Linked DNA regions of Homo sapiens: region 2 is linked to region 1. Evidence: promoter capture Hi-C in 16 types of primary human blood cells and fetal thymus (Javierre and others, 2016). All regions are on one chromosome and are shown on one strand. The core of a region is centred on a gene start or on the middle of the fragment in contact, and the rest is flanking DNA. Distances in the headings are between cores, read along the strand shown.

Region 1 (3,252 bases), core at 237-2,736:
GAAGGGGAGCTTTTTCAGAAACAGGGCAGCAGTGGGGTGAAATTTTCTTAACCCCTAAGACTGCCTTCAGTAGGAACAAGCTGGCTTCTGTGATTAGGTGAAGGGATGGGGGAAGATTTTATGCACAGCCTAGTTATCAAGGGGATGATTTGCCGACATGTTTGAGAACCCCCTAACCTCTAACCCTCATTGCTGTCTTGCCCCAGTTTGGGGTGCCAAGATGGAAGTCACCTTTCTGGGCTTTCTCCTGGAGATAGCTGGGGCTTATGGGTGGCTTTCAAGGCTGGGGCATGGCAAATCAGGGGCCAGAGAGCAGGGGAGCTTGGGACTCAGGTCTGTAACTGCCCAGCCCCTTTTCTCTGCTCTTGTTTCACTCCACCATCACTCACTCACTCCCCACTCCCCCACCCATGGGGAGGAGACCTTTGATGAATTCTTCCTCTCCTTCCCACAAAAGACAGACCCAGTGAGTGAATCAGGCAAAGTGCTTATAATGTGTGTTGTGTGAGCGTGGCCTTGGGAGGACATGCGTGTGTCAGGGATGAGTTGAGGTGATATTTTTATGTGCAGCGACCCTTGGTGTTTCCCTTCCTCGGTGGCTCTGGGGTATGTGTGTGTGGGTGTGTGCGCCTGAGTGAGTGTGTGTGCTTGAATGTGAGTGTGTATGTCAGTGGTTTCTACTTCCCCTGGGATGCTGACCCAGGAATAGTGGACATGGTCACAGTCCTATGTACAGAGCTTTCTTTTGTATTAAAAAAAAATACTCTTTCAATAAATGTATCATTTTTGTGCACAGACTGTGGGGTCTTTGGTTCTGTTTTTCTACTTAGGGAGGGATGGGGGTATGAACGCGAGGCAAACTCCTAAAATTGCTGCTCTGAGTAGCGATCCGGGCTGCTTGATGAGAACGGTAATGCTAAGGTGTGCTTTGGGCTGTTTAATTCTATACGATTTAATTTAAGGAAAGTTTTGCGGGGCCGAGGACCTTCTCCCTGTGCGTGGCTTCGCTAGGTGTTAAGGCCAACGCAGAGGAGCAAATTTTAATTAACAGGAAAAGTGACACAACTAATCCAAAGCATTGCTGAAGGGTTTGGGAAACTCATGGGCACCTGACCTACTGAAAAGTCAAAAAGGGCAGCCTTAAGGTGGGAATGTGGGTTACCATGTTTCGTCAGCATGATCGCTGTGATGGGAGAGGGAGGATTAGGAGGGCCGACCCAGTGAAGAGGAGGGGGCTTCACAGTTGACTGGATGGAAACGGCTTCTTCCTGCTGCTGAGAGAGGAGCAACGTGACCTCGATCCCAGGCTCCTCCGGTAGCGCGCCCCCACGCCCCTCTTCCAGTGCAGCCGCCCGCGGTAGCACGCATGCTCCACTCGCGCGCTGTTCCGCCACGCTCGGCGTGGGCCGCGGTGGGACCCGTAGGTGCCCGGCCGTGCGTGCACTCGCCGTGTGACCCGGAAGGGAGCTCTGAGGAGGCGGGGCCAGGACGGCGGGACCGGCCGCTGGGTCCCAGCGAGGGCTGAGCCGGGCGGTGGGAGGTGAGAGGAGAGTTCTGCGCCGACCCAATCCCTCCCCTTCTCCTGTCCCCTCCCCGGTCCTTTAGCCACTGTCCATGGGGCTGACGAAGGGAACCAGGTCTTGCTCTCTGAGATTCACTGGATCTTTTCAGCTTTTTTGGACCGCGCCCCCAACCATCCTTCCCCCTCCCCCCAAACCCGTTCCCTCTGCGGTGCTGGCCTCCTCCACCTCCCCACGGCTCTGCAAGCTTGGGCTTGACCTTGCTATCTGCTGGTCTCATCCATGCGTCCAGAGCTCACCCCCACACCTCAGTTTATTGTTGCTCTTCTAGGCCGACGTTACACCTCCTACCTCCTCCTATCCGATTCTTTTACTTCCCCCTGCTGCTAATCAGTTGCCCGCTGGCACATCGCTGGCTACCATCCAGGCTTGCCCCCCATCCTAAGTGGACCCCTACCTCCATTGAGGTCCACATCCATCTTTCTCCCTCCTCTTCACCTCTACTCTCATCTTCTGTCCCTGTACCCCAACATGACCCCTGCCCTGACCACTATATCTTCATCTGGGTTTACCTTCTTCCATTCTTATTCTCACTATTCCCTGTTGCCCCTGCACTGCTTCATATCACGCATATCTTTCCTGATTATTCCACTCCCATTTATAATCGGTCTTAATAACTTTGCATTTATTTGATGACTCCCCTACCTTCTCCATCTAAGAATAATAACAGATTATGTTTACTGAACACTCTTTATGTGCTAGATGCTGTTCCAAGTGCTTTACATACATGATCCTACTAAATTCATGAAGTAACTATGAATATTACTACCATCTTGCAGAAGAGGAAACAAGCTCAGAGGTTAAGTAACTTGTTCCAAACTATGCAGACAGTGAGACAGAAAGCCAGAATTCAGAGTCACATTTATCTGATACTGAAGTCTCTGAATATTGCTTCTCTCCTGACCTCATTTCCTACCTTTAACCCCATGATTACCACCTCTATCTTATCTACTTAACTTACTTAAATCCTTACCATACATGCAGTATAAGGGCAGGGTGGGACCTGGTCATCTTTCCCATAATTTTATCTGGTCCCTAGGGCCCTCCCCCTTTCACAAGACTCGAATATACTTTTCCTATCCAGTCATTTGCCCCAACATCCCAGCCTTTTGTCATCTCCATTCTCTATATCTGCCATGGCCCACCCTTTACATCCACCTTGCAGCTTTACTCTGTCATTTATGCTCCCTGTCCTGCCCCTCCGCTATCCTACTTTTCCTCACATGTTCTGATCCCACTGCCTCACATGCTGCTGTCCTTCCTGTCCACCCATGTCATTCTTCTAAGTCCTAATCTGTAACCCTCAGCCACCCTGCTATCCTGCCTAAACTGTCTTGCTTAACTGTCACTCTGTTTATTGTTACTTTGCCTATTACTGTTTTAATTCTCTTTTTGTAAACTCCCCTTCCTTCCTTTCTTCCTTCCTTCCTTCCTTCCTTCCTTCCTTCCTCTCTCTCTCTTTCTTTCTTTTTTTCTTTTTTTTGACAGAATCTCACTCTGTTGCCCAGGCTGGAGTACAGTGGCGCGGTCTTGGCTCACTGCAACCTCCGCCTCCTGGGTTCAAGTGATTCTCCTGCCTCAGCCTCCTGAGTAGCTGGGACTACGGGCATGTGCCACCACACCTGGCTAATTTTTGTATTTTTAGTAGAGACGGGGTTTCACTATGTTGACC
Region 2 (3,252 bases), core at 469-2,968, 520 kb before region 1:
TGATACGTTGAGATTTTTTAAACCTAAAAATAACTCCATGGACTTGGATGGTATCTTTGGCAGGTAACTTAGGCAGGAATTCCCCACTTGGCAGATGTGGAACCACTCCAGAAAGTTGCACCTGAATCACATAGCTGATAAATAGCAGGGATTCAAAGAAAAGCTTTTCTTTGTGATGTAACATTACATACTTTGGCATTTCACAGTCTTTTCCATCCTTCAGTACACTTGCAAAGTCCTGGTCATTTGTTGACACACTGAAATAATAATTGTTTTGTCTTATTGATAGAGCCTGAGTGGAATCTCCTGAGAACAGTGATGGAGAGTTACCTATGTAAGAGGCAATCCTTGAGCCAAATTGTTTTAGAATAGTAATACCACCACAGATCGGGTTCCCCAGAAAGCAGATTCTTGGGATACAGATTACCGTGCAGGACAGTTGAGGGCCCTCTTTCAGCAACTGAGGGAGTAAAGCAGGGAGATCCAGTCCGCACATGATTTTGTCCACCACAGACACATTTATTTCTCTGCTTGTAGGTTGTGCTCTGTGTGCGTGTGCTTCAGCGATACCCAGTAAACTTCTTGAGAGTAGGAACTGTGTCTTGGGAATTCCCAGAGCACTGCTTTAACCAGTGCCTTTCACACTGCAGCGTGAAAGGAGGTTTGAGAGCCCACTTTTAGAGTTGCCTTCTCTCTGTAAAGAAAGTCTTTGCATCCTACTTATGAAAGGTTGGTCTGCTTCATCTTTAAAAATGGTCATTTAGGCTGGGTATGGTGGCTCATGCCTGTAATCCCAGCACTTTGGGAGGCCGAGGCAGGTGGATCACCTGAGGTCAGGAGTTCAAGACCAGCCTGGCCAACATGGCGAAACCCCATCTCTACTAATAGTACAAAAAAAAAACTAGCCAAATTTGGTGGCACGCGCCTGTAGTCCCAGCTACTCAAGAGGCTGAGGCATGAGAATTGCTTGAACCTGGGAGGCAGAGGTTGCAGTGAGCCGAGATTGCACCACTGCCCTCCAGCCTGGGCAACGGAGCGAGACCCTGTGTGGTTTTTTTGTTTGTTTGTTTGTTTGTTTTTAAAAAAAAAAAAAAAGGCCAGGCGCAGTGGCTCATGTCTGTAATCCCAGCACTCTGGGAGGCCAAGGCAGGCAGATCACAAGGTCAGGAGATCAAGACCATCCTGGCTAACACAGTGAAACCCCATCTCTACTAAAAAATACAAAAAAAAATTAGCCAGGCGTGGTGGCAGTTACCTGCTACTCGGGAGGCTGAGGCAGGAGAATGGCGTGAACCCAGGAAGCAGAGCTTGCAGTGAGTCGAGATCGCGCCACTGCACTCCAATCTGGGCGACAAAGCGAGACTGTCTTAAAAAAAAAAAAGATATTTAAACTAGGTGCTTTATAAATTTCATTCCAGGCCAAAGACAAAGTTGCTAATTTTATTTAACTTATTACTTCTGAAGAAAAAGCATTAGCTGGCTATAAGTGGATTTTCTTAATGCTTTGACATTTGCACTGTTCTAGTGTTAAAGCAAATTAAAACTATTAAAGCAAATTAAAAGTAGTTCTTTCTAGAGTGTTAGGAAATTTCGAAGATTATACTAATTTATATAAAGAATTCAAAAATTCCAAAAGAAGCCAGACATCCATCTTGTTTTTCATGATTTTTCATCCCCTTTGAATATAAAAATTAGCACCAGGACAGAAGACTCTGAATTACCTTTTTTCCCCCCATCTGATCTGGTCTGTGCTTAGATTTTTTGTTGTCACTTTGGCTCTGATGTGATTATTCGCTGTATGAGTGTTGTTAGGCAGTCTGTCCTCTAGGGGGCGCCCCGTTACTGCCAAAACATTTTTTATTAGCGATCATTTTAACCCAGCTGCCCTGAACGCACATAAGGCAGCCCCATGAAGAGAGTAGCTCTTTTACCTGGAGCTCAGGGTACAATGGGAGGAATTGGAATATCTCAGCACCCTGAAAGTGTGAAATGTTCAAAAGATTGGATATATTTAAATTCATAGTTCTAATTTCAGTTTAACAATTTGAGAATGTTTAATTAATTTGCTGTGGGTGGTGAAAATTAGAGAGTCCTACTTTCTAAATAATCCAAGGTGTTGCATAAATTGGTATCTCAGAGGAATAAACTAGCATTTCATTTCAAATTTCAAGTCTTTATCAAGGATTTTACAATTTAAAGTTACACATTTGTTATAGGAAAATTAAATGCTTCACTTTTGTTTTGTTTTGTTTTGTTTTGTAATGCAGAAAAATATGATCCATTATTCATGCACCCTGATCTGTCTTGTGGAACACACACTAGTAGCTGTGGGCACATTATGCATGCCCATTGTTGGCAAAGGTAATGTATATTCTTAATATTTGTCAAGAGAAGTTTATCTAAGGGCTCAATATTTTTTAAATAGAGGAAATTTCATTCTAGAAAAAAGGAAAAGAACTAAAAATGTTGAAAAAATCCGTATCATTGCCTAATAAATAACAAAAGTTATTTGCCTTGTCATAGATGTAAAGTGTATGTCAGATATGTTTTTTAATTTAGCTTTATATCCAAGTCTCTTCTATATCTTCCAAAGAAGGAAGTGGATCTGTATCAGTCTGTGGATGAAGAAAAGGGTTTTTACAGTAGGATAAACTCTAGAAGGGTAATGTTGTCTTTCTTTGGGTCCAGGGTGGACAACTTTTGATTCCATAGATGTTAGTACTTGCTTTGTTACTTCCCAAAATTGTAATGGCTCCCTGTGATGAGATGTCCTGAATTTGTTCTACCTTGGTGTTTCCTATGCTTCTACAAAACCAACAAATCAATAATACTATTATTCTAGAACTATGCTCACCCAGTTATCATGAACTACCCCTAACAACTAGCCACCACATTGTAGTCCCAGCTACTTGGGAGGCTGAGACAGGAGAATTGCTTGAATGTGGGAGGTGGAGGTTGCAGTGAACCAAGATTGTGCAACTGCACTCCAGCCTGGGCGACAGAGCAAGACTCCATCTCAAAAACAACAACAACAACAAAAAAAAAACAAATAGCCACCAGCCTTGGGGAAGTGGCAAGAGAACAATGACACCAAGAAATTTTTGTTGCTGCTTTGTGAATGCTTTTTTACATGGCAGTCTTTTTTTTTATTTTACTCTTTTAGAACTTTTAATCCATTTGGATTTTTAAAATCACTCAAAAATCATGTTAAAAATAATTTAGTTTAAGATTTTCATTTTTGAACTATTTGTG

Evidence for each region. Contacts are between HindIII fragments. The CHiCAGO score rates a contact against its expected background, and 5 or more counts as called.
Region 2: a fragment that was not itself captured here is called in contact with the fragment with the promoter of CUL9 in region 1 in 1 of 17 cell types (fetal thymus); the score reaches 5.5 in fetal thymus.

The regions. Positions count from the first base shown.
Region 1 is chr6:43,180,710-43,183,961 of GRCh38, forward strand. CUL9 (cullin 9) reads left to right here and starts at 1,487. Exons shown (of 41, transcript NM_015089.4): 1 at 1,487-1,540. It overlaps SRF (serum response factor), which reads left to right. Exons shown (of 7, transcript NM_003131.4): 7 at 1-797. RefSeq lists an enhancer at 1,158-1,227 and silencers at 1,478-1,617, 1,638-1,687. The HindIII fragment of the contact is 6,829 bases long and covers 1-1,765 here.
Region 2 is chr6:42,659,917-42,663,168 of GRCh38, forward strand. It overlaps UBR2 (ubiquitin protein ligase E3 component n-recognin 2), which reads left to right. Exons shown (of 47, transcript NM_001363705.2): 31 at 2,268-2,361. Among named protein-coding and RNA genes, the nearest start is that of PRPH2, 61 kb to the right of the region's middle. The HindIII fragment of the contact is 3,115 bases long and covers 162-3,252 here.